Regions from separate parts of the Homo sapiens genome. Here regions 1, 3 and 4 are each linked to region 2. The links are contacts of gene promoters, found by promoter capture Hi-C in human tissues and cell types (Jung and others, 2019). All regions are on one chromosome and are shown on one strand. Each heading gives the region's core, a stretch centred on a gene start or on the middle of the fragment in contact. The rest is flanking DNA. Distances are from core to core; before and after follow the strand shown. Region 1 overlaps LOC105371143 (a long non-coding RNA gene). Region 2 holds the start of CACNG3 (calcium voltage-gated channel auxiliary subunit gamma 3). Region 3 has its middle 99 kb from the start of RBBP6. Region 4 has its middle 130 kb from the start of CACNG3.

What was found. Contacts are between HindIII fragments. The study calls those that stand out against the background at their distance.
Region 1: a fragment that was not itself captured here is called in contact with the fragment with the promoter of CACNG3 in region 2 in 2 of the 25 tissues and cell types used here (H1 embryonic stem cells and dorsolateral prefrontal cortex).
Region 3: a contact is called between a fragment that was not itself captured here and the fragment with the promoter of CACNG3 in region 2, in 4 of the 25 tissues and cell types used here (H1 embryonic stem cells, heart right ventricle, lymphoblastoid cells and 1 more).
Region 4: a fragment that was not itself captured here is called in contact with the fragment with the promoter of CACNG3 in region 2 in 3 of the 25 tissues and cell types used here (H1 embryonic stem cells, dorsolateral prefrontal cortex and mesenchymal stem cells).

Annotation. Positions count from the first base shown.
Region 1 is chr16:24,477,658-24,485,028 of GRCh38, reverse strand. LOC105371143 (a long non-coding RNA gene) reads left to right here. Exons shown (of 4, transcript XR_950928.3): 2 at 5,916-6,143. Among named protein-coding and RNA genes, the nearest start is that of RBBP6, 58 kb to the left of the region's middle. RefSeq lists an enhancer at 1,637-2,511. The HindIII fragment of the contact is 5,939 bases long and covers 2,554-7,371 here.
Region 2 is chr16:24,252,386-24,259,338 of GRCh38, reverse strand. It overlaps CACNG3 (calcium voltage-gated channel auxiliary subunit gamma 3), which reads right to left and starts at 3,004. Exons shown (of 4, transcript NM_006539.4): 1 at 2,374-3,004. The coding sequence starts at 2,584. It overlaps LINC02194 (long intergenic non-protein coding RNA 2194), which reads right to left. Exons shown (of 4, transcript NR_146569.1): 4 at 6,479-6,632. RefSeq lists an enhancer at 2,529-3,256. The HindIII fragment of the contact is 9,462 bases long and covers 1,730-6,953 here.
Region 3 is chr16:24,436,911-24,444,291 of GRCh38, reverse strand. No RefSeq gene overlaps it. Among named protein-coding and RNA genes, the nearest start is that of RBBP6, 99 kb to the left of the region's middle. The HindIII fragment of the contact is 9,139 bases long and covers 1-7,006 here.
Region 4 is chr16:24,382,012-24,389,621 of GRCh38, reverse strand. No RefSeq gene overlaps it. Among named protein-coding and RNA genes, the nearest start is that of CACNG3, 130 kb to the right of the region's middle. RefSeq lists enhancers at 6,152-6,841, 6,815-7,610. The HindIII fragment of the contact is 3,851 bases long and covers 1-3,693 here.

The DNA of each region.
Region 1 (7,371 bases), core at 4,274-6,773, 220 kb before region 2:
TCTTCTGCCTCAGCCTCCCGAGTAGCTGGGATTACAGGTGCCCGCCACAACGCTCGGCTAATTTTTATATTTTTTTAGTGGAGATGGGGTTTCACCATGTTGGAACCTGGCCTCGAACTCCTGACCTCAGGTGATCTGCGTGCCTCAGCCTCCCAAAGTGCTGGGATTACAGGCGTGAGCCACTGTGCCCGACCCTTTTATTCTTATTATAAAAATAATACATGTTCCTTTAGCGCATTAGGAACTGTAGGCAAAGAAAGAGAAGGAAACAACAATTACAAGTAACCTGCTAGCACACATGAAATTTTGCTGTCTATTTTTCCAGTGTTTTAAAAATGTCTATCTGGTAAAAATGGGGTCACACTTTTAAAAATGGATATATCATGGATGTCATCCTCAGCTGTTGCTTATTCTTCTGCAACATAAATTTTTGTGTAGTTCCATAATAAATATACAGTCAGGTTACATTTAATGCAAATTTGAATTACACAACTTGAAATAGTAGGATATAAAATATTAATTAAATCCAACTTTATGGGCAAAATTTCATAAAATGTGAATCCTGCCTTGCATTTATTTTCTGTAGGAAATTTAATCTTGCATAATGTGAGGTATTGTATTATGAGAGGTGTTCAGCAATTCAATCCTTTGCATAAAATATGGCTGCCCTGTCCCATCATTTATTTAGCCAGGCCCTTGTTTATGGTCACTTAATACTGCAGTGAGCCTCTTTGAAGATAAATCTTTGCACATGTCCCGTGATGATGTCTTTAGGAAAAATCCTTTGATGTGTAATTGCTGGGTCAAGGCTTTTAATGCATATTATCAAATCCCATCCTGGAAGGTGGTATGAACATTGATGTAACAAACATTTCCATAGGGCTTACTATAGGACAGGCACTATTCTAAGAATTTTGCATCCTCATAATAATGGTATGCAATAGATGCTGCTATCATTACCATCATCCCTGTTTTATGGATGAGGAAGCTGAGGTCGCCTCAGAGACTCAGGTCGCAAAACTAGTAGGTGTTAACGCTGGCTTCTGGGTCCTGGCTCCTAAACACTGGAGTGTGGTATTTCCCTAACATCCTCAGCATCAGAGTACAAGGTGATTTATTTCCCTATACCCTTGCCCACGAGTAATATGTGTCTGCTCAAAGGGATTGTGACTACATTATTATACTCGGGAAATCAGTTAACCAAATGGTGATTTCTGAGCACTGGCACTATGAGAGATAGAGAAGAAGTTCTAATCTATGGCTTCCAGTGAGCTACTATTTGATGTTGATTTTTTTCCCTCAAGAAACCCCATCGTTATGAATTGCATGCTTGTGTCTTCCCAAAATTCATATGTTGAAACTGTTATTCTTAATGTAGTGGTATGTGGAGAAAGGGCCTTTGGGAGGTGATTAGATATGAAGTTGGAGTCCTTATAAGATTAATGAAGTTATAAAAAGAGACAGGAGAGCTTTCTCTCTCTCTGTTCATATGAAGGTATAATGGGAAGTGGCCTTCTGCAAATCAGAAGGAGAGCCCTCGCCAGACACAGGATCAGCCCATGCCTTGATCTTGAACTTCCCAGCCTCCAGAACTATGAGAAACAAATGCTTGTTGTTTAAGCCACCCAGTCTATGGTATCTTGTTATAACAGCTCAAAATTACCAAGGCACCATCAAAGTAATATTTTCTGATGCTTCCTCCCGGCAGAAGAGTCCCTCATTTTTGGTCTTCATGTAACAGATGTTTTGGGGGTTCACTGGTTCTCTCAAAGGCTCTGCTCACAGCACCAGGATTTTAGGAAACTCTCTTAAGCTATGTGGCATACTTTCCCTGCTGTCTGCTACAGATGCTGGCTCCATGCCTTACAGTCTCTGCAGCTTGCCTTAGCCCCTGACCCAGTGCTGGCTTTATTCATTCACTGCAGTGAGCTTTCATGCTGAGAGAATAACAAAGAGGCATGAGATCCTGTGGCTTTTAACCTGAGATAGGGAGCTGTGTTTAGTTACTTTTCTTGAGCTCACCCGTAACATGACTAATTCTTTTCCAAGACCTCTAGATCCTTGTCTTAGTGTAAAACTGCTAAGCGGCCATAACAAAAGTATCCAACAATACATGGCTTAAAGAACAAAGTGGTTTTTTCCCTCTCATGTAACAGTGCTGAGGTTAGCAGTTGAGATCATTGAGGTGGCTCTAATCCACATAGTCTTTCAGGGACCCAGGTTCTTTCATCGTGTTGCTTTGCTCTATACCAGTGCATTAACATCATCTGCATGGTGAGGGTTCCAACCAGTGGGAAAGAGAAAGAACATGGAGGAGTCACGCCCACTGCATAGGCCTAGACACACACCACTTCCACTTGAATCCCTTTGGCAAGAACTAAATCACTAAACACCTAACTGCAAGGGATGCTGGGAATTGTAGTTCACCTCCATACCTAGAAAGAAGAGAATGGATTTAAGGGGAGGGCCAGTGGTATCCAAAAGACCCTCCAAGTAGGGAATAAATCTAGCTGGGTTTCTGTTTATGCATAGCTAGGTTATTATTATCTTTATTGCCCCTCTTGCTATACCATATCAGTGGGTGAATTTAAGACTAAGATATATAGAGGCCAGGCATGGTGGCTCAAATTTGTAATCCCAGGCTACCTGGGAGGCCGAGGCAGGAGAATCACTTGAACTTGGGAAGCGGAGGTTGCAGTGAGCTGAGATCCCTCCACTGCACTGCAGCCTGGAGGCAAGACGCTGTCAAAAAAAAAAAAAAAAAAAAGAATAAGATACAGAGGCATTTGACATTTATTGAGTGTTAGTACACCAGCCTCATGGGCTCTGGAACCTTGCTCTTAAAAACATGTGCCAGGGCGGATCACGAGGTCAAGAGATCGAGACCATCCTGGCCAACATGGTGAAACCCCATCTGTACTAAAAATACAAAAATTAGCTGGGCGTGGTGGCACATGCCTGTAGTTCCAGCTACTCGGCAGGCTGAGGCAAGAGAATTGCTTGAACCCGGGAGGTGGAGGTTACAGTGAGCCGAGATGGCGCCGTGAGCCGAGATGGCACCACTACACTCCAGCCTGGTGACAGAGCGAGACTTTGTCTCAAAAAAACAAAATAAAGACAAACAAAAAAACGCATGTGTCAACCTTGTTATTGGCTCTACCTGACCCCAAAATGAGCTCATAGTTTGATGTTAAAGCAGAATATGCAGACTTTGTAGACAAAAAATTCTGAATGAGAATCACAGCTCCATCATTTATCTCCCTTCTGTGTGACTTTGGACATGTTACCTAAACTCTCTGAGTTTTAGTTTATTGTGAGGATTATATAAGCATGTAGAATGATTAAGAGCCAGGGCTTTGGCATCCAAGATGATTGGTTGCAAATCCTGGCTTTTGTGACACTAGACAATCCTCTTAATTTATATGAGTACCAGGTTTCCTGTAGAATGGGGTAATACCCTACCTCTTACTGGGTTGTGCAAATGATGTATGTCCTAAGCACTTAGGTCAGTATTGGCTCACAGTACTGAGAAGTTAATCTACATTCAGCCTCAAGTAGTGTGACCATCCTTTCTCACTGCCTTCTCCCATAGGTTGGCTTCATCCTTAGGCTGCCTCTACAGTGGAAACAAGATGGTGGCTACATATTCAGAAGAAGAGTGACATCTTCTCTTCCACGCACCCCCTTGAAGCTCATTGGCTCTAACTGGTTATGTGTGAATCTTTAAACTGTGGCTTGGGGGATTAGACTGATTAGCTGATTGGCTTCAGGGAGTTGATACCCATTCCTGGAGTTAGGGATGGGGTCATTCCCAATCAATTATATGGCAGACATTTGGGGGAGGGATGTTCCTCCAAAGGGAAACTGGCTTGTAATTACCCGAAAGGCAGCCAAAACAACAGATGTCCACTACAGAGAATGTGTTTGAAGGATGAGTTAATTGGACCTAATTATGGCCCAATTTTTATTTGTTTTTTTTGAAATGATGAGTTGATTCCTTCTGATGATAGATGAGCTAATCACCATTTCTGGTAGTTTTCGTTCATATCCCACTTAGTTGACTCCTAGAGTTTTCTTTTATTGCTTTGCCCATACCAATGAATGCTTTCTCCCCCATTACATCTTCAGTGTCTCACCCAAAACTGAGCTCATAGTTTCAAGTCAAAGCAGAATACAGGAGCTGTGATTCTCATTCAGAGTGTTTTTTTTGTCTCCAAAGCCTAAAGACACTCCAAAGAGTCAGTGTCTTTCTGACCTGTAAGTTCATGTTACACGTGCAGACAGAACTTGTATGTGGTGATCAGACACCCCCAAACAAATGCATTGAAGGGGAATCTAGTTGGAGTCTATTTATTTATTTCGAGACAGAGTCTCCCTCTGTCACCCAGGATGGAGTGCAGTGGTGTGATCTCGGCTCACTGCAACCCTCACCTCCCAAGTTAAAGCAATTCTCGTGCCTCAGCCTCCCGAGTAGCTGGAATTACAGGCTTGTGCCACTGCACCACTAAAAATACTAATTTTTGTATTTTTAGCAGAGATGGGGTTTCACCGTGTTGGCCAGGCTGGTGCTGAACTCCTGATCTCAAGTGATCCGCCACCCTTGGCCTTCCAAAGTGCTGGAATTACAGGCATGAGCCATTACGCCTGGCCTGCATATTTTTGAACTTGTAGTATTTGTCTTTGAAATAGCAGTGAGCTTTTTGATTCCAAAGTTTTTGATATAAGTGCATGTGTGTGTGTGTGTCTGTGGGTGAAAGAGAGAGAGAGAGATTGGGAGAGAGAGAGAGAGAGATTGGGAGAGAAAGAGAGAGAGAGAGAGGAAGGACAAGGGTCAGGTAAGTGTGTCCTGTCTCCCTCCCTCTGGATCAAAACTCCTGCTGGGTGGGGTGAGAATGTGTAGTAGCAAAAACTGGAGACATATGGGGGAATCCTCAAGCAGTGGGGTATGGGCCCCAGTCCCCATTTGAGACTCTGGGATGCAAATGAGTCATCGGAAGCCCTGCACCAGCACAGAGTGGCTGCATTAGAGGAACACTGGTGGTGTCGTGTGTTTATGTAGAGAGGGCTTTCACTGGTGCCTTGGGTCTCTGTCAATTCCTGAGTGCCTGGGAATACCTCCAGCACTCCCCTCCACCATTACCAAGAGAGACAAAGAAAGTAATTGAATGTACTAGCTGTCTTTTTATTTTTTATTTTTAGTTTTTTAGAGACAGGATCTTGCTCTGTCACCCAGGCTGAAGTACTGTGGTGTGATAACAGCTCACTGCAGCCTCGACCTTCAGAGCTTAGGTGATCCTCCTGCCACAGCCTCCTGAGTAGCTGGGACTACAGGCATGTGCCACCGTGCTCAGCTAGTTTAAAAAATATTTTTTGTGGCCAGACGCGGTGGCTCATGCCTATAATCCCAGCAATTTGGGAGGCCGAGACGGGCGGATCACCTGAGTTCGGGAGTTAGAGACCAGCCTGACCAACATGGAGAAACCCCGTCTCTACTAAAAACACAAAATTAGCCAAGCGTGGTGGTGCATGCCTGTAATCCCAGCTACTCGGGAAGCTGAGGCAGAGAATCGTTTGAACCCGGGAGGCGGAGGTTGCAGTGAGCCGAGATTGCACCATTGCACTCCAGCCTGGGTAACAAGAGTGAAACTCTGTCTCAATATATATATATATATACACATATATATATATATATATGTGTATATATATATATATATGTGTATATGTATATATATATATGTGTATATGTATATATATATATGTATATATATATATGTATTTTTGTAGATACAAGGACTTACTATGTTGCCCAGGCTGTTCTCGAATGCCTGGCTTCAAGCACTCCTCCCACCTTGGCATCCCAACGTGTTGGGATTACAGGTGTGAGCCACTGCACCCAACCTGTCTTTTTATTATAGGGTCAACATAGGACTGTGTAGCCAAGAGCTACAGGATGGATTGCTGAGGCCAGGGAGATTGAAAGGAAGTCACAGCCCAATCTCAGAGGGATCCACGGAGCCAGCGAAAGCTAAGGCGGGACTTACCCAACAGAGGGTCCTGGCCCAGTCACCCAGTGGCACAACCCAACTGGGAGATCTGAGCATCTACCAACTGTGGCCACCAGTGAGATGGTGTCATTGTCTGGGGTAAATACCGGGGGTTTGTTGTCTCATGCCAAGGAAATCGAGTTTGCGGACACAAGAATTGGGTTTAGGAGCAGAGGTTTAATAGGCAAAAGAAAGAGAAAGGGTAACAGTAGGAGAGAGAGGAGTGCGCCAGTGGGACTTCTGACCCACGATGGAGTGCATTGGATTTTATAGACAGGCTTGAGGAGGCAGTGTCTGATTGACACAGGGCCCACAGATTGGTTGGACCAGGTGTGAGTTTTACATAGCGTGTGGGGAAGCTGGCCACGCCACCCTAATCTTATTATGCAAATAGGCTTTCCACTTGGCCGGCACCATGTTGTCTGCTGCCTAATGCACATGTGGTTGGAAAGGGAAAGGGAAGATGCAGCTGCCATTTTGAACATGCCTAGTCCCAGGTAGCCTTTTCCTATTGACACAGCTGCCGCATTCACCCGTGCAAGCTTCTGTGTCTGCAGCTCAATTTTACAGGCTGCTGTTTGTTAGAAAAGAAATGATTCAGGGGCTGCTTTTCATTAAAAGGAAACCTTACTGAGGACTTCCTTACCCTCACTGTCTGCCTAAATAATTTCTTCTTTACTCCTATATCACCGGCATCAGAGGCCAGCAGAAGTCTCAGTGATCGGGCAGGACAAAGGACATTTCTGCAGAGAATACTGAAGGTCCAGGAGACAGCACAGTGGGACATATGTGGGCCCCTGCCCCATCATTAGGAGGAAGTGTAGGCTTTTCTGAGGACCTGGATGCCATACCATCTTGAGACAGAGAATGAGGAACCAACCCTTGACAAGAGAGAGATGGCCCTGGTAGAGAATTTGAACCTTGAATTGGATTGAATATTTATCCAAAAGAAATTGAACCAGCACTAGAGAGACTGTTTTGAACTAGAAGTAACCAAGTTACCTTAACTGGAAGTTAGGATTTTTCCACCCCTGACATCAGTGGGACAAGGGCACATGAGCAAGATATTTACGGACAAAGAAGAACGTTCATGTTTTGTACACCTGCTTTGTAGTATGTTGCAGATACCGTTGGTTCCCCTGATTTCAGGTGTTCTCGTTCTTTCTGTACAGTCACTTGCTCAGGGCAAATGGTCCTCTCCTGCATGACTCAGAAGCACATACTGATTATTCTAAACTGGTCTTCATGCCCCGTTCCCTTGTCAGTGATGTAGTTAGGCAAAGGATTATGTAACAATTCTGGCTATGAGACATTGAAACTTCTACTG
Region 2 (6,953 bases), core at 1,755-4,254:
AAATTCCCCAAACACTTGATGTGTTTAGTACACATCTTGGCTTCAAATTTCAGCCAGGACCCACCTAGGTGTTAATTACATGGGTGCAGCCATAGCTAATATTTTATTGTGATTCATTGTGATTTGTGCATCTTACTGTATTTAATACTTCAAAAAAGTGAACAACAACAAAAAAAGCCAGGCCAAGTTGTATGGGGACTGCAACACATTTTCTCAATAGAATTCACCTGCCCAAGGTTATGTCTTCAATTCATCCAATTCCTTCTTGATTCAATTTCTCACTTCTCCCACTAAGCCTACAGAATGCCTGGCTGGGGTTTCAATTCCTTGTACAAACTGTGGGTGTAGGACTTGATGTTGGAAAAAAGAGAAATCATCAGTTGAGAAATTCTTAGCAAGTGTTTAGAAATTTTAGGTCCTACCTCTGCTCTTATAGATATATATTTTTTTCATAGATCATAATGAGGAACGTCAAACTTCATTTTTAATTGTGCATTCTCAGGTTTGATTCCCAGAGGCAGAAGAATTGGAAATGGCTAAAGCACTGTATACATATGTGCCATTTTTGGCTTGGAGGAACCTTAGAACTTCTATGCCATCTCTAGAACCATGTAGATATCGCAACATCCACCAAATCAGTTTTACAAAAGATAATTCAATTCCTTATAGCCAATATAAGAAAGGGAAATATGGAATTTCCCTGAGGTAAATGACTTCACCATACCCAATCACAAATGCTCACAAATATCCAACTTTTGTCATTGTTTAGGAAATAATTATTCTAGAATTTCTGTCAGTATATTGAATACAGTATAAGCTTTAGATAATGTTAATTCAAGACCACCTAATCCAAACGTATCATTTCCCAGATGAATAAACTGAGAGTTGGAGAGGGTAAATGTCTTAACCAAGGCCACAGCGATACTTTGCAGCATTACCCAGGTCTTCTGACTTCACATGATCCTTGCTGCATTAAAGGTAGCCCTTTCCTACCTGGGCTTCCCACCAGTTGCAAATTTGTGTTAGAAACAGAATCAATTGTAGTAGCGCTACGGTCAGGAGAGCAGTTGTTCAAAGTGTCAGGACATGGGAAAAAGGCCAGAGAATGATGCAATATTACACTGGCAAGTGATGTCATAGCATGATTTCCCAAGCGATTTACATAAATGCAAGTTCTCAAGAAGCCCTGACAAATGCCAGCCAGTGAAAATGCAGTGTGAAGAACCAATGGCAAGCAGGGGAGGGGACCACACAGGAAACGCAGATTTCCTTGCCCACCACTGTGACAAGCTTCACAGATTTCTCGGAAGCCTAAGAAAACCCCTACTGCCCCTCTAATCCAGTGACTTCCCTCAGGCACATAGGCTCCAAAGAGCTTTGATTTTCTTCCTTATCTTTCTATTTACTCCCAGTGATATCCAAGCATTGCCTACTGGTGCTGAGAGTGACTTCTGGTGTGGTGAAAGCAAGTTTAATAGTGTGATAGGCTACAAAAGGGCTTTATATTTTTAAATTGCTCTTTCTTCTTCATTATAAGTTATAACTACTCCCTAATTTTTAGAACTAGAAATGACGAACTGCAATTCTTGGAGAATCAGTCTTTTGTAAATGTCATGGAAATACCTTTTTAGGGGTTTGGGAATGATTTAGGAATGAAGACAGGTGGATACAAAATACCAAGACTTCAGTTTTGTTGTGATCCAAACTAATAAAACATGTATCAATAAGGATTTTTTCTTAAAATGTGTGCATAGGGTGTGGGTGGGAGTAGGGGTTTACATATGTTACCCTGTTACTGATTGGCAGTGGAAGTTCATGACAATATCTAGTTAGAGCAAACTCAGGAGAAACTGATAAGTCTATGTTGAGAAATAATGAAATAGCTCAGAATGTGCCAGACCGGGTCAGGATCTCTCTCTCTCTCTCTCTCTCTCTCTCTCTCTCTCTCTCTCTCTCTCTCTCTCTCTCTCCCCCCTCACTTCTTTCCTCTTGTCCCTTCTCCTCCCTTCCCTCCCCCTCCCTTCGAAATCCAATTTAAGCAGGGTTAAAGACCCCATCTCAAGCCAGAGATCCAAGCAGTTGACAATATGCCTAGGGATTTTGGATTTGAAGACTTTTCTAAACTGCAGAAGCTGCCTAGAGTGTGACAAAAATCTCATCTCATGAAGCTTATACTAAAAACAATCAACAAGACCCAACCCCTTTAACCCACATGGCGTCAGTCTTGCTGTTAACAGAGTCTGGGCACCTGCACATTCTCAGCAATAATTTGAACTTCTCTTCTTTCCTTATCACCATTTCCATCTCCTCCAAACACCCACCAGAATATCAGAACTGGATTATTCAGAGCTATTGAGAGGAAATTGTAAATACCTTCTAGGCAGCAGGTCCTCCACAGCCCCGAATGGGTCATTACTTCTTCATTCTTCCTGCTGGTTTCATTATCACTTGTAGATTTAGTCCTGCACACACCTCTGGAATATAACCAGTAGTCCGTGCCCACTGCAATGGTCATTAAACTAAAAGCGGCAAAGGCTCCTACAGTGGTGATCAACATCTGGATACCTCTGTCACACATCCTCATAATTCTTCATGGTACTCTGGACGGCTGGGGGTTGGAGGGGGAGAGTCAGTGCCGGAGGGGAAAATCACTCTGCAGCCGGGTAACCTAGTACAGGCTCTTCCAAAAATTCAGGTCTCCTTTTGTCAGCATCCACAGGGACTTTGGGAAAGCTGGGATTTCCTTTCTGGAGCTCTCTCCAGTTCCCTGGGTCGCCTATGGCCCTCGGAAGGGTGCAGGCTCCGGGGGGTTGGTCCGCATCACTGCTGCCTTCTGAGGGTCCCTGGGTTCCTTTCATTCCTCAGGAGCGTGGTAAAGACGAGGGTCCGTGCAGGGCATGGCTCCGGAGCCTGGAGCTGCCAGCTCGGTTTGAGATGCGCCTGGCTTCTCACAGCCCCGGGAGACTCAAGGCAAAGAAACCCAGAGAGGTCTCTGTGTGAGTGTGTGTGTGTGTGTGTGTGCGTGCGTGCGTGTGTGTGCGAGCGCGTGTGCTGGGGGTGAGGGCGGATGGCAAAAAATAGCACTGCTGGGAGGCGAGCCGCTGAGAAGAGTGTTCACTGCTTCCACAGCCTCGCAGGAAAGCTCTCCGCCTGCTCCCGACACCCCCGCTCAAACTGGAGAAAAGACAGAGTCCTGGGGCGGGGGCCGGCTGGTTTCCCTGGGGGCGCCAAGGTCCGTGGTGCTGAAGGGACAGCTCCCCGCCTGTTGCCCCGCCTCCGTCGTCTTAACGCCTAGGCTTTAAGGTCCGTGGTGCCGAAGGGACAGCTCCCTCATGCAGCTGCACACCGCCGCCCGGGCTAGAAACCCGGGGTGCTAAAGGGTCTTTCTTCCCTCACCCCGCCCTTCCCCCGTTCCTTCCCGGGTCAGCCAGCCGGCTCGGCTCTGCCCAGTCAAGCCCACTCTCCGCGCAAAGTTTCTGGAGCCGAGGACAGTCAGCGCCCTGGCTCCTGGGCGCTGCAGCACGACCCGGTTCCTCCGCTCTAGGAAGGGTTAAGGAAAGGGGAAGGGGAGCGAAGCCCGTAGCGCACTCTGGCGCTCCCTCAGCACCCACCCAACGCGGCATTCTTCAATCCTCCCTTTCACCCCATGAGCCAGGCAAGTTTGCCTTTTGCTGCGGGCACCACTGGAGCCCATTGGGGAAAAAGAAGACCCGAAAGACCGAGTCTTCTTAAAGGCACCGGCAGCTCTGGAGACGGCTCTATGGCTCGCTTAGGCGGGCAAAAAGTGTTGTCACAATCACATCTGTGTAGAGTCTGTCTCAATTTGGTTCCCCAGCAAACAAACCAATATGTCTACCCTCCTTTCTCTGGAGCTCTGGTTTACACCGAAGACAACCCGCTCAGATCAGACCCGGAACTGTTCATATATACATGATCATGTATTCCTAAAAGATGGAAGAAGCTAAATATACATAGACTCTGTCATACACATATTAGGGACCTTGGGCAAAAGACTATAAGATTTTGGCCTTTGAATATGCCTTTTATACATTTTAACATATCTACATCGAAGGGGGTGATGGATTCATGGTGGGAGAGTCACTGAAAATGTCAGATTTTGTTCAAAGGTCTCTGAGATATCATTTGTTAACATTGTTATCTAAGTGAGACCATGAAGCAGGTGAAGTTAGGTCTGCTTTGCTTGTTAGTCCAAAGGGCAAATGGCATTGCACACCTGAAAGCTCTCTTCCTTGGAAATAGCCAGTATTGCAAAGGACCAGCATTTAACCAGCTTTTTATTACTATGTATTCCGGCATATGCATGGGCACACACCGAGTTGACTAGAAACAGCCCACAGAAATGCCCTTATTATTTTTTTTCTTATGGCATCCTGGGACTGATATCCAGAGGTCAGATAGTTGGAAATGAGGTTGCTTGGGTTGTTTCCACAGTTCCTGAGATGTGTCCGCAACCAACTGTCATGTTTGAATGTTATTTAGCTGGACAGAAATATAACGGGAGGTAATCGCAGACAAACATACTCCCCTGGTGCCATCTCTGGCTGCCTGGGAACTTCTATTCAGGTGACTGGGTAGCAGGAATATATTGAAGGGTTCGCAAATGCAGCTCACAACTTCTTGGTGACTTTGCTACTTTCATTTTGGTGTTAAGACTGAAGACTTTATTCTTGGTGTTAGATAAATACTCATGTGCAGGAGGAAGTTTGAATATATAGCTGTGGAGTGATTGTGTTTGAATGCTCACCTGTGCTATGTTCAGTTTAGTTATAAATTCTGAATGCCTGTGAATCCGTCATAGAAGTAAAGCAAGTATGTAAATGTATGTTTGTACCTGCAGACAGTGTTATGGACCATGTGAACATATTTGCTGCAAATGCCTAGCATTTTTGCTATGCATATGCATACATATTTGCACATGTATGTGTATGCATGCACGTGTGTAGGTATAGTATAGATTTGAATATGTAGGTGTGTATACCTATGAGCATTTAGTTGCATATGCATGTGTCGTGGTTCAAAAACACTGATTTATGGACAGGAGGTAGAAATACTGAAATCTTGCCACATAATCCACAATGGAATGGATAAACTTGGGGCCAGCACCACAGCCGTACTCCAGAAGAATGACAGAAGATAGTAGGGAGAGGATACACGAGGGCCCCTACAAGTTTCTTAGTGTCATTTTCTTTCCTGAAATGAAAATTTGCATCTTAATAAAAATATCCTGCCTTGATTGTTATTACCTTTCTTTTTTAAGGGAAAGCCATATGTAACATGGAGGTGAGGTTGGTATTTCTTGGGAGGGATTAATTCAGTTAGCAAAAATTTCTCTCCCCACTCTCAGAAAGGTAAATAAGATGAAATAATTACTAATGATCAAAGCAGTCATTTCAGGATCTGTTTGATTCTTCTCTTGCTTGGATAGAAGTGAGAAAGGTCTTCTTTCAAAGAAGGACCATGTTGATGAAAGGTGAGTGAGCTTCGGGCTAAGGGACAGTATGCCCCAATCTCTCCATTTACCAGACCCACAGTGGAACAGCAGCATCTTCATCTCCACCCACTTAGCTCTACAACAGAAGCGCAGACAAGCAGAGTATGGTGCCCAGGAGCCTAGCAGAAGGATAGTTGGGGGAAAAGGATCAGGAGCTCAGGTAGATGAAGGTAACAATTATGGGTCAGGATGCACCCAGTTTTGCTGAATAAGAGAAAGGGATACATGTGATAAAACTGGAGCTTTGTCCTGAGCCTCTGACTTGGTGAGGCAGGCTCATTCTTTGGAATTGCTGTCCAGGGCCAACCTGATCACTGTGGGAAGTCCCGAGCCTGCATGTGGAGCAAGTCAGAACAACTGAACGGAGTGGGAGTGTGGAGGCAGGGAGGCCGCAGTTTGTTCCCTATCATGCCTCCCAACTTACTAGGGGGTGACCTCATCCTTTCATTCAATTGAATGTGTAGGTGTGTGGACCTGGGCGCGTAGAATCTGCTTGTAAGGCTAGAGATCGTTCCTCATTTTCACCACTAGAGGGCTCTTTCAACAGATCAATGAGGGACCCAAGAGATTCAGAGCTCTCTCCAGGGCGGGCTGGAGCTAGACTCTTGTCTACTAATAGCCCTTTCTGATCCCACTTATCTGGCAGAAGACTAGGAGACATTCAGACATCTTGCAACTGATGTCTGATTCTCTTATTAAGACTTTTGTTTTCTTCTATTGGGCTGTCAGCTAGTGAAGTAGTTGGCACGGTGTATCTATTTATGCTTTTTCCTGTCCATCTTCTCATAACATCTGGAGGGGTCAGTGATCCCTGTAAATGGTTGTGTCATTTAGGAAGGAGTACTCTCAGTTGCTTCAATTCAACAGATGCTTTTCGAGTGCCTACTATGTGCAAGGCATTCCCCTATGTGCTCAGCACCTTGGAGAATACAAAGATATGATTCCCATCCCCCAGGGAGAAGATTATGCAGTTGGGAATATTTTATTAGTGAGTTCACTTTGACTGTAAATGGCAAAAACTTACCAGAGCTAGCTTAAGAAAATGGGGAATTTAGTACAAGAATATGACGATGTTTCAAGGAACCACAGGGCAGAGGTTCAATCAGGCCTTGGCAGGGAGCTGGAACCAGCAAAAAAAAAAAAAAAAAAAAAAAAAAAAATGCCATCAGGAGTCTTGACAGTCACTTCATTTTGCATCTCTGCCTCTTTTCATATTTTTAGTTGAAAAATTGTTTTGCTTCATCTATTCTTTGATCCTTGAAATAGAAGCTAGATTTTGAGTTCTTATGTCATCTCTATTTAAGAAACCCACCCAGACTAAACTGGGAAGTTTTAGTCCTAATTCAAAATTTCCGGGAGAGACAACCTGATCAGCCTAGCTTATGTTGCTTGCCACTTCCTGGTCCATGCAGCTGTGGCCAACGATTCAGGGTCATGTACT
Region 3 (7,381 bases), core at 1,188-3,687, 190 kb before region 2:
CTCACTGCAGCCTTGAACTCCCAGGCTCAAGCAATCCTTCCCCCGCCAGCCTCCCGAGTATCTGGGACCACAGATGCATACTACCATACTTGGCTAACTTTTAAATTTTTTATAGAGATGGTGTCTTTTTATGTTGCCCAGGCTGGTCTTGAACTCCTGGCCTCAAGTGATCTTTCCATTTGGGCCTCTCAAAGTGCTTGGATTATAGGCATGAGCCACTGCACCTGGCTCCTCAGTACTTCTAACCAACCAGCTCTAAGTTTCCCAGGATCTACTCCTTGGGTTCAATAATTTGCTAGAATGGCTCACAGAAATCAGGAAAACAGTGTGCTTACTAGATTACCAATTTATTATTTTAAAAAACCCTCAGGAACAGCCAGATGGAAGAGGTCCACAGAGCAAGGCCTAGGAGAGGGGTGTGGAGCTTCCATGCCCTCTCCGGGCACATCACCCTCCCAGCATGTCTGTGTCTTCACCAACCTGGGAGCTCTACAGACCCCACTGTTTAGGGGTGTTTTGGGTGGAGGCTTAATCCTGCAGGCATAATTGATTAAATCACTGGCCATTGGTGACTGTCTTCCTTTCCAGCCTCTCTTTCCTCCCTAAAGGTTGTGGGAGTGGGGCTGAAAGTTCCAAACTTTTTGTTTTTGTTTTTTTTTGAGACGGAGTTTCGCTCTCGTTGCCTGGGCTGGAGTGCAATGTCACGGTCTTGGCTCACTGCAACCTCCGCCTCCCGGGTTTAAGCAATTGTCCTGCCTCAGCCTCCTGAATAGCTGGGATTACAGGCGCCCGCCATCATGCCCTACTAATTTTTGTATTTTTAGTAGAGACGGGGTTTCCACCATGTAGGCCAGGCTGATCCGGAATGCCTGACCTCAGGATATCCACCTGCCTCAGCCTCCCAAAGTGCTGGGATTACAGGCATGAGCCACCGCGCCTGGCCTGAAAGTTCCAAACTTCTAATCACATGGATGTGATTCCCTCTGGCAACCAGCCCCAAGCCTGAAGCTATCTAGGGGACCCCCCCTTGAGTCATTTGCATATACCATTAGCATATACTCAGGTGTGGTTGAAAGGACCTTACTATGAATAACAACAGATGCCCCTAACATTCTGTCACTCAGGAAATTACAGGAAGCTCTTGTACCAGGAACTGGGGAGAAAGACCAAGTATGTATTTCTTATTACATCACAATATTACGGTTTCCCAAATGAAAACGAGCAAAAGTGAGGTTAATTGTTGAGGTAGGGCTGGAAACAACAAATTCTATAGACCAGGGGTCCCCAACTCCTGGGGTCACAGACCATGGCCTGTTAGGAACTGGGCTGCATGGCAGGAAGTGAGCTCGGCGAACCAGCATTACTGTCTAAGCTCCATCTCCTGTCAGATCAGCAGACGCATCAGATTCTCATAGGCGGGAGAACCTTATTGTGAACTGCGCATGTGAGGGGTCTAGGTGTTGTGCTCCTTATGAGAATCTAATGCCTGATGATCTGTCACTGTCTCTCACCACCCCTGAATGGGACCATCTAGTTGCAGGAAAACAAGCTCAGGGCTTCCACTGATTCTACATTATGGTGAGTTGTATAATTATTTTATTATATATTACAATGTGATAATAATAGAAATAAAATGCACATTCAATGTAATGTGCTTGAATTATCCCCAAACCATCCATCTCCCTCCCTGCTGTCCATGGAAAAATTGTCTTCCACGAAACTGGTCCTGGTTGCCAGAGAGGTTGGGGATGGCTTCTACAGACTGTAAACTATAGGGGAAAACCTATAGGGAGGCTCAGATAAATCTGCTTCATAGGTAAGAGCAGAGGCTCAGAGGGAATTTGTCCACCTTCAAAATGCCCCTTGTTATGTGACCCTGGGAAGGTCATATAAAGAAAGTTACAAAAAGAGGAGAGGCTGGGCATGGTGGCTCACCCCTGTAATCCCAGCACTTTGGGAGGCTGAAGCGGGTGGATCACTTGAGGCCAGGAGTTGGAGACCAGAATGTGCAACATGGTGAAATCCCTCCTCTACTAAAAATACTAAAAAGTAGCCAGACATGGTGGTATGCACCTGTAATCCCAGCTACTCCAGAGGCTGAGGCACAAGAATCTCCTGAACCCGGGAGGTGGAGGTTGTAGTGAGCCAAGATCACACTACTGCACTCCAGCCCAGGTGACAGACTGGGACTCTGTCTCCAAAAAAAAAAAGGAATATCAGTAACTGCTTCATAGGGCCGTTGTGAGGACTGAACGAAATGATACACATGAAGCATTTAGCAGGGTGCCTGGTTCATTGCAAGTATTGACAAAACATGCCCTCCACATCCAGGGGGTGTGGGGAGAGACAGTCTAGTCCCTGACCCCAGCCCTGACCAGCTTAATACCTACCCTAGAGCCCACCCTTCGGAATGGAGTGTAAACTTCATGTTTAAAGCCTTCTGGCACTGAATAGAAAAGATGTAGCTCGGAAAACTCTTTTAGTTAGGCTCATGGCTCTAGGGCTCAGTCGGAGATTATTTGTTTTTTCTTTTTTTCAGTGCTGCCAATGCTGGGGATGAGAGTTGGCAGAAAGAGGGTTTTTAGAGGATGGACTTTTTTTATTCCCATGAGATACATGTAACTGTCAGCTGCGCCTCCCCCTGTGAAGGTGTTATTGAGCAAATGGGCTTGCAGCCTGATGTGCATGGAAGCCAATAACTGTGGCACCAGAATTTGAGAAAAGAAAGGCTTTACTGCGAAACCGGCCAGCAAGGAGACAGGAGTCAGGCTCAAATCTGTCCCCCTAGGGCTAGGCGCAGTGGCTCACGTCTGTAATTCCAGAACTTTGAGAGACTGAGATGGGAAGATCTCTTGAGGCTAGAAGTTCGAGACCAGCCGGGACAACATAGTGAAACCCTGTCTCTGTAAAAAATAAAAAATAGCAGGTCGTGGTGTTGTGCACCTATAGTCCCAGTTACCTGGGAGGCTGAGGAGGGAGGATCGCTTGAGCCTGGGAGGTCGAGGCTGCAGTGAGCCATGATTATGTCACTGCACTCCAGCCTGGGTGATACAGCAGTATGCTGTCTCAAAAAAAAAAAAAAAATCTGTCTCCCTGATTTGGGCTCTGGGACAAGTTTTAAAGAATCAGAGGACAAGGGAAAAGATTTAGGAATGTTAGCTTGGCAGGGTTTGATTGGAGGGCTTCAAATTTGACCATTTATAGTAAGATATGTTGAGGTTGGGCTGGGCATGGTGGCTCATGCCTATAATCCCAGCACTTTGGGAGGCTGAGGTGGGTGGATCACCTGAGGTCAGGAATTCGAGACCAGCCCGACCAACATGGTGAAACCCTGTCTCTACTAAAAAAACACAAATTAGCTGGGCATGGTGGCACACACCTGTAATCCCAGCTACTCAGGAGTCTGAGACCGGAGAATTGCTTGAACCCAGGAGGCCGAGGCTGCAGTGAGCCGAGATCGTGCCATTGCACTCCAGCCTGGGTGACAGAGCAAGACTCTGCCTCAAAAAAAAAAAAAAAAAAAAAGATATGTTGAGGCTGATTTTGGCCCAGATCTTTCCAGCCAGTGAAACCCTTGCTTTCGAAGAGTTCTGGTGTTCAGGTTTCGGCCATGTCCCGGTCTTCTTGGTTCCAAAGGGGAGGAATTGTTGGTTCTTGGTCTTGTCAAAGCTTTTTCTATTGCATATGCCCAGGCTGCCTGACTTGCAGCTTTTGGCTCTGTTACGTCTAAAAGACAAGCCCACATTTGCTTATAAACAGAGTAGGCCCAGTTTGGGCTGGTCCCATGGTTACAAAGGGAAGTGACTCAGTCACCGAAATCAGGAAGCATAGATTAGCCTATTGGGACCAGGACTTTGGTGCCCGTCTGACAAGGAAAGAGATGGGTCCCAGGCAGCAACCACCTGCCCCTTCTTGCTACTGCATTTCATGGCTGCCACCATAGCATGCATGACTACGGTTTCTGAGCAGCAAAGGCTGGGGTGGGGCCCAGGAAGTCACAAGAACCTTCTGTAGGGATGTTCCCATTTGGGTCGGAAGGGTGGATGAGACTAAAAATACCACCTACATGACATATTTACTCTGCTCTTGTTAATACCCTAGAGAGATTGCCAAGAGTCACTACCACCAAGCCTGTGATTAAGCCGTAATAACCACTTTTGTGTTTATAAATTTTGTCCTTGATATCAGAGAGGAGTATTTTTAGGCTAGAACTTGGAGCTAACAAATCCCATTGCAGGAGTGCGGATTTAGGCAAGCATCTCTCAAGGAGAACTTCCCAGGGCACAGCAACTAGGCCAGGAGAGATCTGTCCATAGGAATAAATTGGGAGGCTCCAGGCACCATGTCTCCATCTTGTGGAAAGCTTTGTAGGGAAAACTCTCCCCAAACTGCACTTTTCCTCTACTCTCACGCTACAACAATCATCAACACAGAAGAAGACTTCTGTGACCAAATGTGTGGGTTTTTTTCCCCACACACCAAGCAGTGGACCCCAGCTGGGTGTCCTCTAATTCAGTTCCTTCACTATCTACTTGGAGATAGTGTCAGATCCCAGGCTCAGTCCCCAGTACTGTCCCCCTACCACACTAGTTGCAAGTCTGGCCTCTGGAACTTCAAGTTGGGGTTCCCATGATTCACTGAACTCAGGGAAACACTTACTTACATTTGCCATTTGTGATAAAGGATATTTCAAAGGATACAGATGAAGAGATACATAGGGCGAGCTATGGGGGAAGGGGCGTGAAGCTTCCATGCCCTCCCTGAGTGCAGCATCCTCCAGGAACCTCCACGTGGTCAGCTATCTAGAAGCTTTCTGAACCCAGTCCTCTTGCTTTTTTATGGAAGCTTCATGACATCAGCATTCCTTCCCCCAGAGTATAGGGTGGAACCCTCTAATGGGAGGGTCTTAAGACCCACAATCAGAAAGGCGGGTAACATTAGAGTCCTGCCTTGGAGCAGGTGAAAGGAGGGTAGGGAGAAAGCCAAAGGCCTGTCGCTGAGGCCTAACACACCCAACAGGACCACAAATCACTGTAGCAAAGGCTGTGGGAGTTAGGAACCAGGAACCATGGATGAAAACCAATACGTATCATAACACTACAGAAGCTAATCACACCAGGGCGCACATCCCTTTAACTCAGGGCACCTTGGCAAATGTGGAAGCTTTGTGGATATCTGTGCCTTTTTATTTTTTATTTTTCATTTGAGACAGGGTCTCACTCTGTCACTCAGGCTGGAGTGCAGTGGCATGATCACAGCTTACTGCACCCTCAACCTCCCAGGCTCAAGTGATCCTCCCACCTCAACCTTCCAAGTAGCTGGGACTACAGGCACTCGCCACCATGCCCAGCTAATTTTAAAATTTTTAGTAGAGACAGGGTCTCACCATGTTGCCCAGGCTGGTCTTGAATTCCTGGGCTCAAGTGATCCTCTGGCCTCAGTCCCCCAAAGTGCTGGGATCACAGGTATAAGCCACCACACCCAGCCATATCTCTGCTTTTCTATCCTCCCACCCTCATAGCACTACTTATTCATCCATCCATCCATCCATCCATCCATCCATCCATCCATCCATCCATCCATCCATCTGTCTATCCGTCCATCCATCCGTCCATCCATCTATCTGTTCATTAATGAATTCATTCAACATATATTTATTCAGACAGGTCCCTGCTTTCATGGAGTTTACATTCTTGTGGTGGTGGTTGCCAACTGGAGGACCAGACAATAAACAAATTAAAAACACAGTGCCATTTTGGATTGAGTACTCTGATGGAAATAAACAGGAATAAATGCTGTATAGGACCTGGGCAGACAGGGCTGAGGTAAGATCAAGGAGGTAACAAGCCACTGGGAAGGAGCCAGCCATCTGAAGAGCCAACTCTATCGTCTGCTTTGCTGACCCAAACTCTCCACTTTCCCCTCCCTCTTAAGTCTTCTCTCTGTGCTCATTTCCAAGGTAAGCATCTACAACTACTCCATGAGTCTGTCTTAAGGGAAACTTGACTCTCCTTGAAAATATTGCTTCCCCTTGCAGCTCTTGCAAATCTGGGTTGTTCATTCCCTGCATCCCACCTTATTCCCAGCCAGAAGAGGGGGTGCTGGAGCCCCAATTCCTGGTGCTCTTTCCACAGGCACATAAACGTCCCCATTCCTTTACTATATGGATGTATGTATAGAAGAAAGACATGATATAGACAGAGTTCAGTACTATTTGCAATTTCAGGCATCTACAGGGGTCCTGGAACATGTATCCTGCTGATAACAGGAGACTGCTGTACACCACACAATATACAGGAAGACTTCCTAAACATCTGTCTTAATCCGTTTGTGTTGCTATAAAGGAATATTCGAGGTTGGATGATTTACAAAGAAAAGAGGTTTATTTGGCTCGTGTTTCTGCAGACTGTATAAGAAGCATGATGCCAGCATCAGCTTCTGGTGAGGGATTCAGGCTACTTCCACTCATGGTGGAAGGGGAAGAGGAATGGTGCTTGCAGATGTTACACGACAAGAGAGAAAGCAATAGAGAAAGAGAGTGAGGAGAGGTCCCAGGATTTTTTTTTTTTTTCCTTTTTCTTTTCTCCCTCTTACCACATCCCAACCAGGCTCTTTTAAACAATCAGCTTTCCCAGGAACTAATAGAACTAGAACTCACTCTTTACCAATAGAATGGCACCAAGCCTTTTATGAGGGATCTGCCCACTATGATCCAACAGCTCCCAATGGGCTCCACTTCCAACACTGAGGGTCAAATTTCAACATGAAATTTGGAGGAGACAACATTCAAATCATAGCAATGACCTTTTCTCCTCTCTCTTCCCAAGATTCTGCACCTTATGGAAGTTCCTTATCTCTTTTCCTCTACCCCACTCAAAACTTCTGATCCACTTAATTCTCTTGTCTCACTCATCCTTCCCATCCATTGCCTCCTCTTCCCACTTCTTTTTCTTCTCTCTCTCAACTAGGATCTATGTTTTTATTTTATTTTATTTTATTTTTTGAGACTGAGTCTCACTCTGTCACCCAGGCCAGAGTGCAGTGGCTCCACCTCAGCTCACTGCAAACTCAACCTCCTGAGTTCAAGTGATTCTCTTGCCTCAGCCTCCCAAGTAGCTGGGATTACAGGTGCATGCCACCACACCTGGCAAATTTTTGTATTTTTAGTAGAGATGGGGTTTCTTCATGTTGGCCAGGCTGGTCTCGAACTCCTGACTTCAAGTGATCCACCTGCCTCGGCCTCTCAAAGTGCTGGGATTACAGGTGTGAGCCACCATGCCCAGCTCTGGGCTCAAGTGATCCTCCAACCTCAGCCTCCCAAGCAGTGAGACAGGATTGTTCCCTTGATCCCCTTTGTAGGCGGGAACTGCAGTGGCTTGTT
Region 4 (7,610 bases), core at 519-3,018, 130 kb before region 2:
AGGCACATTTGTTAAGATTTTTGTCTTTAGTTTTTATGGGGAACCAAACATTCTCATGACTCTAACATCCTTGGCTTTTGTTTTAAGCACCATTACCATCTTGCTTATCAAATTGCTCATTTACTTCTCAGTCCTAGCTAGGTGCCTGGAATTTCCCTGGAAATGTAACTGCCCAGTGGGTTCACCTTGCCTGCTGCCTAGACAGAGCCAATTTCTCAAGACAGGAGAATTGCAACAGAGAAAGAGTAATTCACGGAAAGCCAGCTGTGCGGGAGACCGGAGTTTTATTATTGCTCAAATCAGTCTCCCCAAGCATTCGGGGTCACAGTTTTTAAGGACTACTTGGTGCGTGGTAGGGAAGCCAGTGAGCCAGGACTGCTGAGTGGTTAAGTAGGAGATGAAATCATAGGGAATTGAAGCTGTCCTCTTGCGTGGGGTCAGTTCCTGGATGGAGGTCACAAGATCAGATAAGCCAGTTAGTGGGTCTGGGTGACGATCCATCAAGTGCAAGGTCTGCAAAATATCTCAAGCACTGATCTTAGGAGCAGTATAGGGAGGGTCAGAATCCTGTAGCCTCTAGCTGCATGACTCCTAAACCATAATTTCTAATCTTGTGGCTAATTTGTTAGTCCTGCAAAAGCAGTCTAGTCCCCAGGCAATGAGGTTTGTTTTGGGAAAGGGCTGTTATTGTCTTTGCTTTACACTATAAACTAAGTTCCTCCCAAAGTTAGTTCAGCCTAGGCCCAGGGCAGCCTGGAGGTTAGAAGCAAGATGGAGTTGGTCAGGTCAGATCTCAGTTACAATTTTGCAGTGGTGGTTTCAGAAGGAACTCAAGCTTTTCCTTTATTTCCTTGCTTTCATGGTCGAGGGTTGCCCAGAAGGCCCCAAGAGGAGTCCCTGCTTTGTCTCATGATCACTTTTTCTTTCCTCAACACTCTTTGCTTTTGTCTCAATGACCCACTGATGATAAGATGTGGACCAATGGGGAACAAGAGGTTCCCCTTAGGTCCGAAGGTCAAGTCATCAGCTTCAGCCCAGTTGACCAGAGATTCCTGCATGTACTGACACTCGCTCCTCTTCTCCACACAGCTGTGAGGGGTGATCCACGGGGTCAGAGAGAGGCTATCTCAAAATCCTCTGAGATTCTTTAATTTTTCCTTCTTTTTTTTTTTGACAGTCTTGCTCAGTCACCCAGGCTGGAGCGCAGCTTACTGCAAACTTCTGGATTCAAGCAATTCTAGTGCCTCACTAAATGTGACTAATAGGGTCATGTCCTCAAGCTGTGAGTAGCTGAGGTTAGAGGTGTGCACCACCACGCTAATGTTTGTATTTTTAGTAGAGGTGGGGTTTCACCACTTTGGTCAGGCTGTGATCTGCCTGCCTCAGTCTCCCAAAGTGCTGGGATTACAGACATGAGCCACCGCTCCCAGCCTGAGAGTCTTAAAAAATCCTCTTGTCTGGGCCCCACTGAGGACCAATTAAATCAGACTCTCAGGGAGAGGTGTTTTGTATTTTATATAATTTTGCTTATTTTACAAAAATTTTTATTGAGTTACATATTACACTAGGATACATTAATCTTGAATCTTGACTGTACAGCTCAACAAAATTTTTTTTTTAGTTAATTTGTTTTGAAAGAAGGTCACCGAGGCTGAAGTGCAGTGGCATGATCACCACTCATTGCAGCCTCACCCTCCTAGGCTCAGGTGATCCTCCCACCTCAGCCTCTGGAGTAGCTAAGACTACAGGTGCAAGCCATCACGCCCAGCTAATTTTTAAATTTTTTATAGAGATGGGGTCTTGCTATGTTGTTTAGGCTGGGATTCCTGGCCTCAAGCAATCCTGCCATCTTGGCCTCCCAAAGTGCTGGGATTACAGGTGTGAGTCACCATGCACAGCCAGCTCAATGAATTTTTACATAAGTTTATGCCTATGTACCACCACCCAGATGAAGCTTTAGAACTTTTCTAGCACCCTCTAGGAAGTTCCTTAAGTCTCTCCTGATTCAGAATGGCTGGGATCCTGGCTAAACCCCCCCCAAGCCTGGAACGGTGGCCCTAAGCGAAAACAGCTGACCCCATTTTTCCTCCCAAATGTTGCCTTTTTGGCCTGCCATGCCCCTATCCTGTGTCCATAAAAAGACTACAGCTGGAAGAGCAACACAAGTGGCTGAGTGGTACACAGAGAAGCAACTGAGCATCAGAGACTATGGATAGACACAGCTGACTTCAGACTGTGCAGCTTTAGAGAGAGGCCCAGCCGGAGATGTCCCGGTTTCAGGGAATGATCGCTTTCTTCTCACACCATCCCCTTTCCAACTCCCCATCCCACTGAGAGCCACTTCCATTGCCCAGTAAAATCCTCCACATTCATTACCTTTTCAATCCGTTCCTGTGACCTGATTGTTCCTGGACTCTCGACAAGATCCCGGGTGCCAAGAGGGCAGGGGCTACCACCCTGACCCTCCAGTGAGCTAGTTGGCACTTTGCTGTCCCTGGGTGGCAGAGCTGAAAGAACACTGGTTGTAATATACTTGGATGCTGCTGTGGGGCCGCACAGAGCCTGCTCCTGCCATAGAGGAGCAACTGGCCAGTTCCAATATTCATTCGCTCCAGTTCCCACCCTCACTTGCTTGCATGCTCCCTCTTGTGAGGAGTGGCCAGTAGTGGGCTGAGATAAATGAGCCACTCCAGTTCCCTCCCACAAAGTGGGTGAAGGGAATTATCCTGTCTCACTCATAGGCAGTAACTCCTGCCACCCCACCAGAACAGGGCACCACTATTCTGACCTCTGTACCTCTAGATTGGTTTTGCCTGTTCTTGACATCATATAAATGAAGCTGTATAGTATGTGAGATTCATCCACTTTGTGGGGACAGCAGTCATTCATTCCACTGACGAATATATCACAAATTATTGATCCATCCTATTGATGATGAAAATGTGGTTGTTTTCAATTATTTGGCTATCGTAACAAAAGCTCCTATGAACATGTTGTACACTTTTTTTTTTTTTGACATGGAGTCTCACTCTGTTGCTCAGGCTGGAGTGTAGTGGCAAGATCGCAGCTTACTGCAACCTCCACCTCAAGTGATTCTCCTGCCTCAGCCTCCTGAGTAGCTGGGATTACAGGCTCTCACCAAAACACCCAGCTAATTTTTGTATTTTTAGTAGAGACAGGGTTTCTCCATGTTGGCCAGGCTGGTCTAGAACGCCTCACCTCACGTGATCTGCCTGCCTTGGCCTCCCAAAGTGCTGGGATTACAGGTGTGAGCCACTGTGCCCTGCCTGTACACTTATCTTTTTTTTTTTTTTTTTTTTGAAACAGAGTCTCACTCTATCACCCAGGCTGGAGTGTAATGGCACAGTCTCGGCTCACTGCAACCTCTGCCTCCCAGGTTCAAGCGATTCTCCTGCCTCAGCCTCCCGAGTAGCTGGGTTTATGGGCGTGTGCCACCATGCCCAGCTAATTTTTGTATTTTTAGTAGAGACGAGGTTTCACTATGTTGGCCAGGCTGGTCTCAAACTCCTAACTTCAAGTGATCCTCCTGCCTCAGCCTCCCAAAGTGCTGGGATTACAGGCGTAAGCCACTGCGCGCAGCCTCACTTTTATTTTTTGATGAACTTGTTTTTGTTAGGCATACACTTGAGGACGGGATTGTTGGGACATAGGGCAGGAGTATGTTTACCGTTTATAGCGTTGTCCAAAAGGCCACCAATATGGCCAAAGAGTAGAAAGGAGAGCTTTATTGGTGATATCAGTTTGTAAACTGGGAAGAGACAGTCTCCAGCCTGGACCAAAGGTGCTCTCTTTTCAAAGAGGGAAAGAGCAGGTTGGGTTTTTTGCCTCACAGGACTGGTATTGTACATATTCAGCAAGTCTGGGGGAACGGCTGTACATATTTATGAGAGGCGCTGAGTGCATGTGAATTGGGTAAACATATATGTAACATACATCTCATGCTCACTTTGGGGTAGTGTTCTAGCATTAAAATGATGTGGAATTTTGATCTTTACATAAAAAGTGAACTATAGGACACAGAAACAGTTTGTGCACAGCCTCTATAAACTGCCAAAACTGGCTTAAGGTCTGCAGTTGCTTATCAGAAAAAAAAAGACCGGTCCTCTGTCCGACAGAGTTGTAGTGGTCTGAGTTGTAAATCAGAGTTAGGAGAGGCCTGGTACTTTGCCTGGTACCTCCTATTGTGTTAGGCAGTTTAGAAAGGGTGTGGCTTTTCTTGTAGCAATTTACGGAGTTCGCATGCCAATCACTCTGAACCCTCAACCTGTGGGTAACTTCTGTTTCCCTAACCATAGGGCCCATCTTAGTTGATAAAGGGGAGTCTATTTTGGTCTCTCAGATCACAGTGGATAGGGCATAGGGTTTTGTTTGTCTGTTTCTAAGTTCCCAAGGTGGTTCTAATGTTTAGCCATAGTTGAAAACATCTGACGTGGCCGGGTGCGGTGGTTGGGCACAGGTGGGTGGCCCGCAGTGGCGGGCCTCCCAGCACTTTGGGAGGCTGAGGCAGCGGATCGCCTGAGGTCAAGAGTTCAAGACAAGGATGGCCAACATGGTGAAACCTTGTCTCTACTAAAAATACAAAAAATTAGCCAGACATGATAGCACATGCCTGTAATCTCAGCTACTTGGGAGGCTGAAGTGGGAGAATTGCTTGAACCCAGGAGGCAGAGGTTGCAGTGAGCTGAGATTGTGCCACTGCACTCCAGTCTGGGTGACAGAGCAAGACCCAGTCTCAAAAAAAAAAAAAAAAAAAAAAAAATCTGACCTGCAAGTTAAGTAGAGGAGGTAATTTGGGGCTGCATTGTAATAAAACCCAAGTTAAGGCTGGGTGCAGTGGTTCACGCCTGTAATCCCAGCACTTTGGGAGACCAAGGTGTATGGATCACTTGAGGCCAGGAGTTCGAGACTAGCTTGGCCAACATGGCAAAACCCTGTCTCTTCTAAAAATACAAAAATTAGCTGAGCACAGTGGCATGCGCCTGTAGTCTCAGCTACTCAGGAGGCTGAGGCAGGAGAATTGCTTGAACCCGGGAGGCGGAGGTTGCAGTGAACCAAGACTGCACCACTGCACTCCAGCCTGGGCAACAGAGTGAGAACTTGTCCCCCAAACAAACAAAAAACAACAAAACCCAAGTCAAAAAAAGGAGTAGCTGTGTCTTTAGCATAATAAAGCCAGATTAATTACTTGTCGATGAATAGGTCAAAGTCAAGTCATGAGAGACAAAAACATTTATTTGTGGTGGGGGTTTTTAAAGGGACGTTAGCATTGTGTTTGATTTCAGTTGCCTTGAGAGAAAACAAGCCATAGCCTAGAGTGGGTATGTCTACTTCCCTATCTTACCCTGCACCTTCATTCATGGGACAAGGATTCTTCCTCACTATCTGGAGAAACCAGAAGAATGTATCAAAGCTTACCCTCCCCACCAGCAAAAAGAGCAGAGGAGAAGTCTCTTCATATTCAAGAGACGCCTGAGATGGCAGATTCTGCAACACATGAGGCCAGCCTGGGGAATTGGGGTCTTACTTTTCTGGGGGTGGCAGGTAGAGCTCAGCTTGAGGACAGGGCATGTGGAGCACTGAACAGACTTTAGAGGGAGAGGAAAATAATAACATACAATATTGCAATTAATAAATAACTATATAATGAATATAAATGTAGTTAATATATAATAATACATAATAAAATAAATGGACTAAGGAAAGAAACACTTTCTTAAGACTTAAGTGTTCTGTAATCCCAGCACTTTTGGGGGCAGAGACAGGAGAATCGCTTGAGGCCAGGAGTTTGAGACCAATCTGGGAGACATAGTGAAACCACATATCTACAAAAAAATTTTGAAAAATAGCAGGGCATGGTGGTGTGTGCCTGCAGTTCCAGCAACTTGGGAAGCTGAGAGATGAGAAGATCACTTGAGCCCAGGAGCTCAAGGCTGCAGTGAGCTATGATTGCACCACTGCACTCCAGCAAGACCCTGTCTCTAAAAATTAAAAAGACTTAAGCGTTTGTTCTTGGACTGAAGGAAACATACACCTGTATTCCCTGCCCCAGTCCAGTTTCAACACTAGCTGTTTATTTCCCACTGGCGAATGAAAGATTTAGTTTCTATCCTATGATTAGGGGATGGCAGAGGTGGACTCTGTGGAGCAAAGTCCCCGCCAGGCAGCTGAAATCCTAACACACCAAAGACTGTCTCTAAAGATAACCCAGCTTTGGTTTACATAGCAGACGCCATGTCAGAATTAGAGTTATTTCCTCTGTCCTAGCGGGAGAGGTAATGGAAGGTCATGTTATCATTCTTGGGAAGATGAATTTCCTCAGAGCAACAAAAGGCCTTTTTATTGTGATGCTCTGGGCCCCTCTGGAGGAAATCAGGCTCTATTCTCTAGGAAAGGGGAAGTAATAATAGTCAGTCTTTAAGGAACAAATAAGAGAAGCTCTCAGGTAACTGTGGGCCTCCTGGGAACAATCCATGAACTACTTTTAAAGGGTGAGTAGCCCCATTGTCTTGGAAGAATGAAATAGAGCTTTTTAAGAGCTTAAAGGAGATGAATAGCTCTTGCACGTGTCCCTGGGAAAGATAAAAAGGCAGAACTTCCTGGGTGGCTAATTGGGGGTAATGGTGACAGCTCTAAGTGGAAACGCTAAGCAAATGCTCAACTCTGTGGAGTGAGATTCTCCCTTAGAACTGCCATGCATTGCAACAGCTGCGGTCAGTTGAAGGATAGTGTGAGCACTGGCACATGAAACAGAAACCATGTGTGACATCAAGGAGGGTGTTAACAATGGGTGAGTGGACCCTCAAGGCATGGAAGCTGGCCTATAATATTTTCCTCCCCACTCTGAAGCCTGCAAATGTCCCCAAATGTCCCTTCCTCAAAATCTGCTATCCCTCTTCAACAGACAATAAAGCTCCAACCATCTAAGCTGCCTTTTTTTTTTTTTTTTGAGACAGTCTTGCTCTGTCACCCAGGCTGCAGTGCAGTGGGACTATCTCAGCTCACTGCAGCCTCCACCTCCCGGGTCCATGTGATTCTCTTGCCTCAGCCTCCCAAGTAGCTGGGACTACAGGTGCCCACCACCACACCTGGCTAATTTTTGTATTTTCAGTAGAGACAGGGTTTCACCATGTTGGCCAGGCTGGTCTCGAGCTCCTGACTTCAAGTGATCTGCCCACCTCAGCCTCCCAAAATGCTGGGATTACAGGCATGAGCCACCACGCCCGGTCTGTTGCCAAAAATTTACCATCTCAGGTGTCTACTGTCTTCTGCCCTCTTCTGCTGGTGGAGAGGAATATGCTCTGATCTCTGTTTCTCCTGGTGGAGAAGGAGGAGGGGGAGGGAAGAAAGAAAGAGTCCTGGTCCCATGGATGGGGGGTACAAGGAAAGGGGTTGCAACCATAATAGATTTGTTGCCTGATGCACACAGCAAGTTGATATGCCAAGACATCAGGTTGCAGCAGAGGGCCACCAAATGAGGAGATGGGAGGGAAATCCCATCTCCAACTTCTTGAGGAATGTTAGATACAGTTAGGTCCCCTCTTCAAACAACTTATCCAGTTTCCCCGTTCTCTATCCTATAATTCCAAATA